Regions from separate parts of the Homo sapiens genome. Here region 1 is linked to region 2. The links are contacts of gene promoters, found by promoter capture Hi-C in blood cells and fetal thymus (Javierre and others, 2016). All regions are on one chromosome and are shown on one strand. The core of a region is centred on a gene start or on the middle of the fragment in contact, and the rest is flanking DNA. Distances in the headings are between cores, read along the strand shown.

The links. Contacts are between HindIII fragments. The CHiCAGO score rates a contact against its expected background, and 5 or more counts as called.
Region 1: a fragment that was not itself captured here is called in contact with the fragment with the promoter of LTBP2 in region 2 in 2 of 17 cell types (endothelial precursors and total CD8 T cells); the score reaches 5.3 in endothelial precursors.

What each region holds. Positions count from the first base shown.
Region 1 is chr14:74,703,636-74,710,400 of GRCh38, reverse strand. The region is part of intron 1 of AREL1 (apoptosis resistant E3 ubiquitin protein ligase 1); the gene reads left to right. Among named protein-coding and RNA genes, the nearest start is that of AREL1, 6.1 kb to the left of the region's middle. The HindIII fragment of the contact is 3,826 bases long and covers 1-3,663 here.
Region 2 is chr14:74,610,950-74,617,326 of GRCh38, reverse strand. LTBP2 (latent transforming growth factor beta binding protein 2) reads left to right here and starts at 5,090. Exons shown (of 36, transcript NM_000428.3): 1 at 5,090-5,876. The coding sequence starts at 5,383. It overlaps LOC101928352 (a long non-coding RNA gene), which reads right to left and starts at 4,142. Exons shown (of 2, transcript XR_944029.4): 1 at 4,032-4,142; 2 at 3,279-3,760. RefSeq lists a silencer at 4,460-4,779 and an enhancer at 4,407-5,034. The HindIII fragment of the contact is 11,176 bases long and covers 926-6,377 here.

The DNA of each region.
Region 1 (6,765 bases), core at 501-3,000, 96 kb before region 2:
TTTGAATTTTGGAATCCATGAACAACAACAACTTAAAAAAAGGCCATTTGTAATTTCTATTGTAACCTCTATTGAGAGTGTTCTGATTTCCTTGATTGTTAATACCTAATAGGGAGCTAAATTAGTGTAGGAACACCATGGGGGATAAGAACATACTTAGAAAAATTTGTTTTTGTTGCATTGTAATTTTATTGCAATCTGAGGTTCTTATAGCGTGAAATGAAAGTGGTCAGATACTCTACAGCATTCTTTGATGGGGATGGAAAGTGGGGGATGCGAAGCTGGGAGGTAGTGTTGATTTGTGATGGATGGGAGCAGAAAGTAATTGCTTTTGGGCACATACTTGTGAGGAAAAGAAATGATTTTAGTCCTTCTCAGCAGTCAAGAGGGTTGTTTTGCATTTTTCTGCAGTCTTGAAGAGAAAAAATCACCCAAGGCATTGGACACACAGTTTGAACACATAATTGGGCTTGGACTTCATTCCATTCACTAATTGGTCTAACTTACTAATTTAAGTTGGTATCAAATTTCTTTGTAAAATTATTCTGGATAATGAAAGACTCCTTAAAGAACATCTTGTATTTCAATGTTAGAAAGTTATAAGTAGATTCACTTTTTTGTCCATTTTCAAGTTATAGTTTTTACATTTATTTTTCTGACTTACATGATAGGACTTTTTTTCTCCCAACAAACATTAGTCGCTGTTAATTATTTTTCAATTAACTTGCCTGCCCCTAAATGTGGTAGCATGGCATACAGCATGTTCTGCTTCTGAGGTCTTGATATTGAATTGGTTTGTAAGAATACCTCAGAGATAGATTACTGCCGCTTGGTCATTCATTCAGAAAGCATTTATTGAGGGCCCATTCTGTCCTGGGCAATCTCACCACAGTCCTGTATTACAGAAAGACTTGTAAATAGGTAAAGTATGGTTGGTGGCTGAATAGAGATGTGGGAGTTGAAATATTTTAGAGGAATTACTCTTCTTGTTCATCTTTCTGTAAGTGGTCCAGGTCAGAGTACTGTTGTGTAATATTTATTTAATACTATCAACATATTAGTACCATGTAATAGATCAGATTTTATGACCTTAATGGACTCTAGTGTATCATTTTACCTTTTATTTATTATTTATTAGATCTTGCTATGTTGCCCAGGCTGATCTTGAACTCCTGGCCTCAAGCCATCCTCCCACCTCAGCTTCCTGAGTAGCTGGGAGAAGAGGCATGAGCCACTGTGCCTGACCGTTTTACCTTTTAAATGACTTTAGCTATTAACTAACTTGGGTTTAAATTTCAGTTATTTTTCTTTGGTTTCTTTTTCTTTGAAGGGTTCTGAATGCTTAGCCTTCACTAATGTTCTTTCATATAGTAGTTTTCAAACTTTTGAGGTTGTTTAACCTTATTGCAGTTTGTGTGTATGTATGTGTGTGTACACACACGCATGCCTGAGCTGTTGATATGGTGTTACAGCACCATAGTGATGTTTTCCTGGTGGCTCTTTTGAAGACTGTTCTACAAGATAGGGTTTATAGAGAAAGATGGGTATTCACTTAGCTATTAGAAACTAAATAGTCATGGTAGATACATGTTTTGTCATTTAGTCTAATTGAACGGTTCCATATGATTTTATGAGTTTTTGTTATCTTGAATAGTTGAGCAATTTGCATCATGTTTTTCAGAGCGAAGGCATTTATTTCAGTGCAGCTTGTTACTGTTGAGATGCCAATAGTTAACATCTGTTAATTGATTTTCTATATATTGTACTTTTTGGCCAGAGATTAGATAATTTATTAATATACAACATATTTTCTGTAATGTCCCCTTGCTTTTATCCAGAGACCCAGAGCATGTTATTTTAACCCCTCTCTTGTCCGCTTTGGGAAGTTCAAATTCAAGGTACCCCCGGTATATATGGTAAACCTATTAGGAACAGAAAACAGTTAAAACTTCCCAAGTGTGATCTAGTTTTTCATGTCTTGGTAAAGAAGAAATCCCAGGTGGGCTGTGCAAACAGTTCATAGAAAGGGGTTAAAAAAGATATTTAAAAAGTTTTAGGCTGGCATTACCTGAATTGGGGCAATGATTAGGGAGACATGATTAGAATTCTAAGGGGGAGTGAGAATGTAAAGGGGAGCACCATCTGTAATTAAATTGTTTTAAATTGTGGAATAATTTTAAATTTATAAAAAAGTTGCAAAGATAGTACAGAGTATTCCTGTATACCTTTCACCGGTGTCTCCTAATGTTAACTTCTTACATAACCATGGCACATACTGTCACATCTAAGAAATTAACATTGGTACAATACTATTACTAAACTATAGACTTTATTTGGATTTCACAAGTTTCTCCACTAATTTCCTTTTTCTATACCCAAACTGAATCTAGAATACCACATTCCAGTTAGATCATGTGTAATTTCTTTTTTTTTTTTTTTTTCTGAGGCGAAGGTCTCACTCTGTCGCCCAGGCTGGAGTGCAGTGGCGCCATCTCGGCTCACTGCAAGCTCCGCCTCCCGGGTTCACGCCATTCTCCCGCCTCAGCCTCCCAAGTAGCTGGGACTATAGGCGCCCGCCACCATACCCGTCTAATTTTTTTTTTTTTTTGAGACGAATCTCACTCTGTCGCCCAGGCTGGAGTGCAGTGGCGCGATCTCGGCTCACTGCAAGCTCCGCCTCCTGGGTTCACACCTTTCTCCTGCCTCAGCCTCCCAAGTAGCTGGGACTACAGGCGCCCACCACCACACCCAGCTAATTTTTTGTATTTTTAGTAGAGACGGGGTTTCACATGTTAGCCAGGAAGGTCTCGATCTCCTGACCTTGTGACCCACCTGCCTGGGCCTCCCAAAGTGCTGGGATTACAGGTGTGAGCCACTGTGCCCGGCCATTTTTTGTATTTTTAGTAGAGATGGGATTTCACCATTTTAGCCAGGGTGGTCTCGATCTCCTGACCTCGTAATCCGCCCACCTTGGCCTCCCAAAGTGCTGGGATTACCGGTGTGATCCACTGTGCCCGGCCTCTTTTTTTTTTAAAATGGAGTTTCGCTCTTGTCACCCAGGCTGGAGTGCAATGGCACCATTTTGGCTCACTGCCACTTCTGCCTCCTGGGTTCAAACTATTCTCCGGCCTCAGCCTCCCGAGTAGCTGGGATTACAGGCGCCTGCCACCACGCCTGGCTAATTTTTGTATTTTTAGTAGAGATGGGATTTCACCATGTTGGCCAGGCTGGTCTCGAAATTCTGACCTCAGGTGATCTGCCCGCCTCGGCCTCCCAAAGTGCTGGGATTATAGGCATGAGTCACTGTGCCCGACCAGATCGTGTATAATTTTGATAAATAAGTTGGTATTTCCAGTGAGTGCTTTTTCTGTGCTATGTATGTGGTCCAAGAATCCCCTCTGACGAGTGTTGAAGAGAGTCATTGACCCTGAGAATAAGTAATACTTCATAGGTAGTGTTTTGTATTCCTTGACCCCCAAAGCATTGTTAACTCTATGGAAGAGTTGACTTTGCTTCCAGGAGGGTGATGTGAACTTTCCTGAGAAGCTAAGAGCTGATCTTGATTAAGGTATCCATCCATACCCTCTATGCTCACCTCATAGATTTTACTACACGGAAGTATAACTACGTAATTATTTATTTGTCTGTCTTCTTTACTAAGCTTTTATGTTTCTAAAGTGTTGAGAATATTTTACTCATTCTGGAATCTTTAGGGTCCAACATATTGCTTGGCATGTGGTCGCTTCTTAATATGCATTTGAAGAAATTAATAGACCTTTCTTTGGTAAAACTGATTATTAGGTCAACAGAAATTTTGTTTTGAATAGGTAAGTGTTGAGTTTCTCCTTCAAATCCAGCTATCTTAGGGTGCCATTTCTGTGGCTAGTTGAGTTTTTCTTCTTGGAATCTTAACTACAAAATGCTCATTTAATTAACATTGTTTTTCCTTTCAATTATATAAATAATTTATTTTCCTTAAAAATAAGCACAGAATTGAAAGTAATGGATGGTAGTAGAGGCAGAGTTAGCTTTTAAGTATACGTGTGACCATTCCAGTTCCACCCGACTGGGCTGCAGATCTGGCTGTGTGCCTGCCACTTCAGGCGCAGTTAATGGAATAATAGCTTCCTAGACTTATTGAGGGAGACGGCTTGTCAGGTTCAAAGAATTACTTTTAAAATCTTCCTGTTATAGCCAAGATTCAGTGGTCCAAAGTCACCTAAGCATAAAAGCTGCCATGAGATGGGAACATGGGGGCCTGTCCTCTGTGGCTCAGGCATAGCAGAGTCAGTTTTGTATATAGAAAACACATCAAGATAGGAGGGAAGAGGAAACTGAAGCTAGTATTTTCTAGATTTAGGGTTAAGAATGGGACAGTGACATGGATGAGCCAGTTTTCTCTTTTGTTTTTCTCCCCATGAGGTTACAAAATGAGCAATGGTAAATTCTCACTTCTTGTTTTCCCTGTTATACTCAACATTAGCTTTGAATCCCTTTTTCCTGCTTTCTCTAAACTGTGCTGAGAATGAATGGCAAACAACTCCAGGGACAGCTGAATCTAAGCTATGCCTTTGTGTATACTATACAAAAAGAAATACGGGTCTGAAGAACTCTGGCTTGTTTTAGAGAGAATGGTGCAATAGAGAGAATCCAAACTGAATTAAGAAATGCAGAATTACTTTTGTCTTGGTTAGCTTAACCTTTATAAGCCTAAATTTTAATTTAACCAGTGAGTGATTATAGGACAACATTTTCCAGTCTCATCACAGGTTAGAGTGACTCAGTAAGGTGGGCATGATCTTATAAAAGACTCTCGTTAAAGCCAGAAGGGTAACTAGTTTATTGTCCCTGGCTTAACTTCAAGGTGCATGTTCTGGGTTGTGGAATTTAGTTGTTGTTTTAAGAACCAGTATCAGGGGTGCAGAGGTCTTATGTGGATTTGGAGAGAAGTGAGGGACTAAAACCTTGGCTAAACTTAAGCATTCCATTTACTAGATTGAAGAGAGGAAAAATCTGTTAAAATATTAAAATCTTTCCAAATTCAGAAATAGACTATAACTGGGGCCAGGCATGGTGGCTCACGCCTGTAATCCCAGCACTTAGGGAGGCTGAGGTGGGCGAATCACCTGAGGTCGGGAGTTCGAGACCAGCCTGACCAACATGGAGAAACCCCGTCTCTACTAAAAATACAAAATTAGCTGGGCGTGGTGACGCATGCCTATAATCCCAGCTACTTGGGAGGCCGAGGCAGGAGAATCGCTTGAACCTGGAAGGTGGAGGTTGCGGTGAGCCGAGATGGTGCCATTGCACTCCAGCCTGGGCAACAAGAGCGAAACTCCGTCTCAAAAAAAAAAAAACAACAGAAGACTGTAACTTAAATAGTGCATGGTAATGTGCAGCATTGAATTTGAAAGAAACAAGGGGAATAAAACTTAATGACTATGAGATAAATGGAATGCAGGAGTTTTAAAAAGTTCTTGTTAAAAAATTTGACGAGAGGATTTTCTCTTGTGAAACGTTTAGATAACCCTCTAGAAAAAAACCAGGAGAAAATCTTTGTGACCTTGAGCTAGGCAGAGTTTTAAAAAATAGAACACAAAAACCACAAACTATGAAGAAAAAATTTATGTTGGCTTTCATCAAAGTTAGAAACTTGTACTCTTTAAAAAGTGTATTTTCTGTTAAGAAAATGAAGAGGCAAGCCACAGAAAATATTTGCAAAATGTTTATCTAATAAAGGACTTATATTTATGTGAAAGGAAAATAAGTCTTGGGGCCCCCAAATCACTAAGCTAAAGGGAAAAGTAAAGCTGGGAACTGCTTAGGGCAAATCTGTGTCTCATTCTGTTCAGAGTCATCCCCTGCCTACCGAGATAGATGCATATCTGATTGCCTTCTTTGGAAGGGCTAATCAGAAACTCAAAATAATGCAACCATTTTTCTCACCTGGAAGCCCCCCTCCCTACTCCAAGTTGTCCCGCCTTTCTGGACTGAGCCAGTATACATCTTGATTGATGTCTCAAGTCTCCCTAAAATGTATAAAAGCAAGCTGTGCCCCAACCACCTTGGGCACATGTCGTCAGGACCTCATGAGGCCGTGTCCTGGGCGTATGTCTTCAACCTTGGCAAAATAAACTTTCTAAATTAACTGAGACCTGTCTCAGATATTCGGGGTTCACATTTAGAATGTATAAAGAACTCTTACAACTCAATAGTAAGAAGACAAACAGCTCGATTTTTAAAAAAGAAAAGATTTGAATAGATACTTCAAAGAAACTAATACAAATAACCAATAAACACATGAAAAAAATACTCAATATTGTTAGTCCTTAGGGAAATGCAAATTAAAATCACAGTGAGATACCACTTCACACCTATTAGAATGGGTAACATTAAGACAGTACCAAGTGTTGGTGGATATAGAGCAACCTGCCTCTTGTGCATTGCTGGTGGAAATGCAAAGTGGTCCAGCCGCTTTGGTAAACGGTTTGGCAGTTTCTTGTAAGTTAAGTAGATACTTACCATATGACCCAGCAATCCCATTCTTAGATATTTACCCAAGAGAAATGAAATCATGTGCCTACACAGACTTGTAGCTTAATGTTCATAGCAGCTTTATCTATGATACCACCAAACTGGATGTAACCCAAATGTCCTTCATCTGGTGAATGGATAAACAGATTGCAGTATGTCCATTTAATGGAGTACTACTCTGCAGGAAAAAGGAGTGAACTACCGAAATGTGTAACAACATGTATGAATCTA
Region 2 (6,377 bases), core at 3,841-6,340:
CACAGGAGGGAGTCGGCACCTCTCTGTACGGCCTGCACCTTCCAAACTGGAGGCTGAGGCTGCGCAGTGCTGGGGTCCCAGCTGCCCAGTGTCTGGAGCAGAACATCCAAGCCCATGAGCGGCTCCCGTCTGGAAGGCTGGGGGCCCAGTCAAACTTTCCTTCAGCGATTCTGCCCTCTGATTAACCAGGAAATGTGTTATTTGTTCTGAGCAGGGGAACAAGCTCTCCTGGGGAGAGGAATTCAGGGCTGGAGGTCCAGTTACTTCCAAGCAAGAAAAATCCCTGGAATTCTTTCAGGAGTCTGGGTCTCAGCAAAGGGGGCCGAAATGTGGCCCTTGTTTTTGGTCCTTATTTACCAAATTAGCTCAGGTTCTGGTAGACCTCTGGCTGCCAACATTATTCCAGTGAGACATGGAAAAGCAGTGAGTTTGCCCTGGGAGTCCAGGAGACTGCTGTCCCTTGCATGGGGCATGTGTCTGGGCAAACCTTTCCCTGCTGGAATCTCTTTATCAACCCTTTAGACTCTCTCTGCCGGGTTTTCCAGAGATGATTTTCCTCTCCAGACCCAAGAGATGGGTGAGTAGGCTTAGCAGCGATCTAATGAGGGAGAAGGCTTTAATCAGGGGGTGGGGAAGTGACACACGGTGAGTCAGCGGCCATGCTGAAACAGCTTCCCTTCTTTCACTGGGCCAAGAGGATTAAGGGTGGCAGAAAGTTCTGATAACTCCACATCTCCAGGTACATGAGCTCCAGGTACATGAACAGTGGGCTGGCAGGCAGGGAAGAGGGCATTTGGGGATATGCCCTAGAGCTCCTTTGGTGGTGATAGTGGTGGGGTGGTTGGAAAGGTCATGATTCAATTGTGAAGAGGGCTCCAGGCTTACAAGCCCGGGGTGGAGGCAAGGCGGTGTAACCTTAAAAGCTTGGGCTCAGGTGGAAAATGATCCAGGTTTGAATCCTGCCTCTGCTATTTATCAGCTGTGCCATCTTGGGCAAGCCAGTAGCCATTGCCAACCTCAGTTTCCTCCTTTGTATGCGTGGAAATCATAATGCCTCCTTTGGTTGGTTAAATCAGCCAATTGATGTAACATGCTTAGTATGGCGTTTGGACTAAAGTAGGCTCTATCGATTTTGGCAGGTTAAAAAAAAAAAGCAAAACTCAAGTGTTTGTGGGATTGGAGATTCTGAAGAGCTGCAATCAGTCCCAGCAGTTAGAGGGTAAGGGAGATATGGGCAGTAAGTAGGTGGCAGGACAGAGTGTGGCGCCGGGATGGGGTAGAAGATGCCAGTCTTTGGAGTAGATGAACTGGGTTATGGTCCCCAGGCGAACAGGGTGGGAACGTCCAAGGACCACTTGTACTCACTGAGGAGTGGAAGGGGCGCCCGATGGTGAGGGAAAGTTGGTCTGCGTGAGGGTTTTGGCGGAGGCGAAGGGTGAGGGATGAATGGGCGGCAGACTTCCAGAAATGCAGACGGAGGAGACGGAGCAGTAATAATGACTTGGACACACAGGAGGAAAAAATAGCTCAGGGACGAAGATGATGCCAAGGTTTCTGGCTTTTGGAGGCCCACGGGGATCTGAGGTGGGTCTTGAGGGATCTAGAGGGGAGCTTCTGAAGGAAGTGGGTAGGTTCCGGGGAGAGGAAGGGAGCCCAGAACTACAGAGGTGGGTGGATATCTGGGCAAGGAGAGGTAAGTGTGGACCTGGGGCTTCCACAGCTGTGAAGGAGCAGCATCCCAGGAACAGAACGCAGCATTCTGGGAACTAAGGGGCATTCATGGTCAAATGCAAGGGGTAGGGTTCAAGGAGATCTTTAGAGCCAGCCCCAAAGGCAGCAAGCACATGAACCTGGATCAGGAGCTGCCACCCAGAACTCAGTTCCTCTCTCTTAAAATGGGTCTAATGATACCAGCCCTCCCCACTTGATGGGATTACTGTGTCCTTCATTCAGTTAGCTATCCATTTCACACATACTTCTTGGCTGTTCTAGGTTCTGCAGAAACAGTGGTGAGCAACGCAGACAAGATATCTGTTGCTTTAGAGCTGTCATTGTGGTTTGGGAAGTCAGACAAGAAATGATTTTATAGGTTGTTGAATAGGACTTTTCCTCTGCTCTTGGAATATCTGCTGAAGCCACAAAGATAGAACAATGAGGGCTAAATATTCTTGCATTCTGAAGAGAAGTACTAGACACCTTACTAAAGGCAGAACAGGTTCAACAGCAATCAAACTACATCCCTCAATTCCAGTCTACAAATGAAAGGGATTGAAGAAAGTCACTGAAGCATAACACTGCTGCATTTGTGGGCAGGGCTGAGATTTCCCCTGAGGGAACTCCCCAACTCAAACCAAATGAAGGGAGCTCCCAGAGAGAACCAGTCATCTGCAAGAAGAGGAGGCTCTGTCCCTATAACTGTCCCCCCACTGATGCTGACTATGTTGCTGGATGTTACAGGCACCTCGGTGCATTAAACTACAGCAAGACAGTTCATGGGAGAACCCAACATATGTCTTTAGGAATTGAGGACGTACATAAATGAAGAGACTTGTGTGCACTTCCTGTCTGGAGAATTCTGATCGTGGAGCCTCGCTGGAGTGGCCTGTGTGGCAAGGTGAGAAGTGGGCAGGGTGAGGAGCGGCCAACCCACCATTGTTTTGCCTGGCATAGGTGGGACAGTCCTATGAGAGACAGAGGATGCAGGGGTCTCCGAGAGGTTGGCCAGAGAGTAATTTGCTATGGCAACTCAGGGTGGAGGTCCTGTAGAGAACCTCCCAAAAACCCACATATGTGCCCATGAAAAAGCCAGCGCTTGGCACCTGCCAACCAAGGGTACCTGTCACATAAGACTTTGCTACTTTTCCTCTAACACCTCTCTCCCAGCCTTGACAAAGAGGAGCCACAGCAGAAAAGGGAGGTCAGGAAAACAGACCACACCCCACTCTCACCACTGCAGGATCTCTAGCAAAGGGACAGGGGAGAGGAGGACTATTAAATGGGATGTGATATTGATTAACTTGGATGAGATTTTGATCTGGACAGGAGCAGACTTTTTGTGTCTGAAAATGGGTCTTAATTATATTAATAGAATAGTTCTCGTGTCTGGTAGGGATGACCTCTCAAGCCAAGGACTCTGCCTGAGATGTCATTAAGGGTGGGAAAGGGAAATTTACCATAATATGGTTGAAGGTAGTAGTGGAGCAGTTTCTGGATAGTCCCTCTTTAGGTTCAGCCCATTAAAAAATTCAGTTACACGAGCAAACAAATCAATAACAAGATGATGTCAACTGTTTTATGAAGATGAAACAGGGTGGTGTGTTAGAGTCATGACTGGGGTGAGGGAGGGCTGCTCTAGATTGGAGGTCAGGGATGGCTACTCCAGGAGCTGATATTTAATCTGAGAGGAGCAGTGATGAGGAACTACCCTCTAACATCCTGGAGAGGAACCTTCCAGTAGAGGGAAGGGGGCATTCACTTGGCTTGTTCAAGGAGCAGAGAGAGGGCCAAGGCAGCACAGTGTGGTGGGTAAGGGAGAGCAAGAGGCCAGATGAAATCAGAGCGGGGGCAGCCAGCTAGGGTTTGTAGGCCAAGGCCAGGGGTCGAGGCTTTATTTCAACAGTAGATATTACCTGGGCTTGTCTTTTGTGTGGTGTGGGAGGTTGTGAACTGGTGCCCACATGCCAGCTCCTTCACTCTGCCTCTCTGGGAAATAGGCTGTACAAATGTGCCAGGGGCAGCCCTGTTGATCCAAGCCTTTAGGCTGTAGGGAGGGAGCATGGGTGAGAATGGTGTGCTGATTACTGGGGACACGCAGACAGCGGCAGTCAGCATTCCCACACCCCTGCCCGCCTCCCTGCTAACACAAGATGTGAATGCACACACTGGGTCAATCGGGGTCACCGAATCCCCCTCTGGGAAATTCCCGAGAGAGTGAAGGGCTGGGTGGGATCCCGGGAATGGATTCAGCCAGAGGCGGGAGGCCTAGATTCCACTCCCCTCTTTCACATGCGCTATCTCCTTGAGTGACTTACTCAAGAGGCTCCGTGTCTTTGCCTCGGTGAAAAAGAGGACCCCTTGGCCGGGCGTGGTGGCTCACGCCTTTAATCCCAGCACTTTGGGAGGCCGAGGCGGGCGGATCACCTGAGGTTGGGAGTTCGAGACCAGCCTGACCAACATGGAGAAACCCCGTCTGTACTAAAAAATAAAATAATATACAAAATTAGTCAGACTTGGTGGCGCATGCCTGTAATCCCAGCTACTAGGGAGGCTGAGGCAGGGGAATCGCTTGAACCCGGGAGGCGGAGGTTGCGGGGAGCTGAGATCGCACCATTGCACTCCAGCCTGGGCAACAAGAGCGAAACTCCGTCTCAAAAAAAAGAAAGAAAGAAAGAAAGAAAAGAAAAAGAAAAAGAAAAAGAGGACCCCTCTTCTACCGGCAGCCATCACCGCGCCAGGCTCAGGCGTGACCCTCACGCCAGTGGAAGGGGATTGAGATCCAGAGCGAAGGCGGCGGCGCCAGGGCATTGCAGCCACGGAGCGCCAGGGCCGCCAGCTCCGCCAGGGGGCGCGCCCGGGACCTCCCTGCGCTCCGCGCGCCGCGCCCCGCCCCGCGCCACCCCCGCTCCGGCCGGCCCTGCGGAGGGCGCCCCCAGCGGCCAGGGCGCAAGCGGAGGGGGCGGCGGCCCTGTTCCCCTACGCGGGCCTCGGCGCCCCTCCCGGCTTCCTTCAGACCTGCAAGGCTGCAGCCTGGGTCCCCCGATCCAAAGACGGTCCCTGAGGCGAGGGGCGGGAGAACGATTCGGGGCAGGTCTGCAGTTCGAACTTGCCCAGAGCAGGAGAAAGGCGGCCCAGTGTCCCGGTCGTGGCAGGCGCCATCTGCCCGACCAGCGCCTGGGTCAGCCCCGCGCCGCCCCCTGCTCCGCACGGGTTAATCCCCCTCGCCGCCCGCTCGCCGCCCGCTGGCTTCCCGGTGCCAAAGTGGGTGTTGCTGGAATTCCTCGCTCCCTCTCCGGTAATGAGGGGGCTGAGCTGTCCCTCCGAGGAGGGGGCCTGGTGTGGATAAAAGAGACGAAAAAGCCGGGGGAGGTTTCCAAAAATAAAACCGTCCGGGTCCCCTTCAGACGGCTGCAGGCACAGGGAGGAGGCGCGAAGGTGCAGCAGCCGTGCGAGCCCAGCTGGAGTAGGAGCGCGGACTCGAGGCTCGGGGCGCGCAGCCCTCGTTCCGCCGAGAGCCGGGCCCCCAGTCGGCCGCTTCAGGGCCCCCTAGACTCAGAGAAGCTGGCCGCCGGGCGGGGCCGGGAGAACAGCCCGCGGGCGTCCAGCGTGCCGACCACAAAGCTCTTCGCGGTGCCCGCGCGCACCACTCTCCAGCCGCCCCGCGCCATGAGGCCGCGGACCAAAGCCCGCAGCCCGGGGCGCGCCCTGCGGAACCCCTGGAGAGGCTTCCTGCCGCTCACCCTGGCTCTCTTCGTGGGCGCGGGTCATGCCCAAAGGGACCCCGTAGGGAGATACGAGCCGGCTGGTGGAGACGCGAATCGACTGCGGCGCCCTGGGGGCAGCTACCCGGCAGCGGCTGCAGCCAAGGTGTACAGTCTGTTCCGGGAGCAGGACGCGCCTGTCGCGGGCTTGCAGCCCGTGGAGCGGGCCCAGCCGGGCTGGGGGAGCCCCAGGAGGCCCACCGAGGCGGAGGCCAGGAGGCCGTCCCGCGCGCAGCAGTCGCGGCGTGTCCAGCCACCTGCGCAGACCCGGAGAAGCACTCCCCTGGGCCAGCAGCAACCAGCACCCCGGACCCGGGCCGCGCCGGCTCTCCCACGCCTGGGGACCCCACAGCGGTCTGGGGCTGCGCCCCCAACCCCGCCGCGAGGGCGGCTCACGGGGTGAGCATGGGAGAGGGAAGTTTGGAGGGTACAGAGGGGAGCCAGGGCTCATTTGTGGAGGGGCGTGCAGGCGAGAGGAGAGGGCGCCGCTCTCATACCCTCGTCCCTCTGTCTTTAGTACTTCGGGAAACAGCCCCGAGGTTCCAAAATCGGGATTGGAAGATTTGATCCGCTTTCGAAGAGTTGAAGGCAGATAGATCATCATCCTCATCCTTTCTTACCAACTCTCCCGGAGCCCCGACGTTAAATCCTTTCGCAAGGCGCCTCTCCACTCGCCCGCGTTCCTCCTGCCTGCAACTAACGAGCTCTTGTAGACTCTTGCAGCGCTGCCGGGATCTGAGAGGCAGCGGGGAGAGGGCAGGAGGGTGGGCGCTCCAGGCTCTTGACGCCCAGGGGAGGTTGAGCTGGCTCAGAGCGCGGGTTGGCGGAGGTGTCGGGGGCCCCATGGAGAGAAGGTAGATGCGTCTCCAGGAGGGGAGCCGGCAGCGAAGCTGGTGCGTC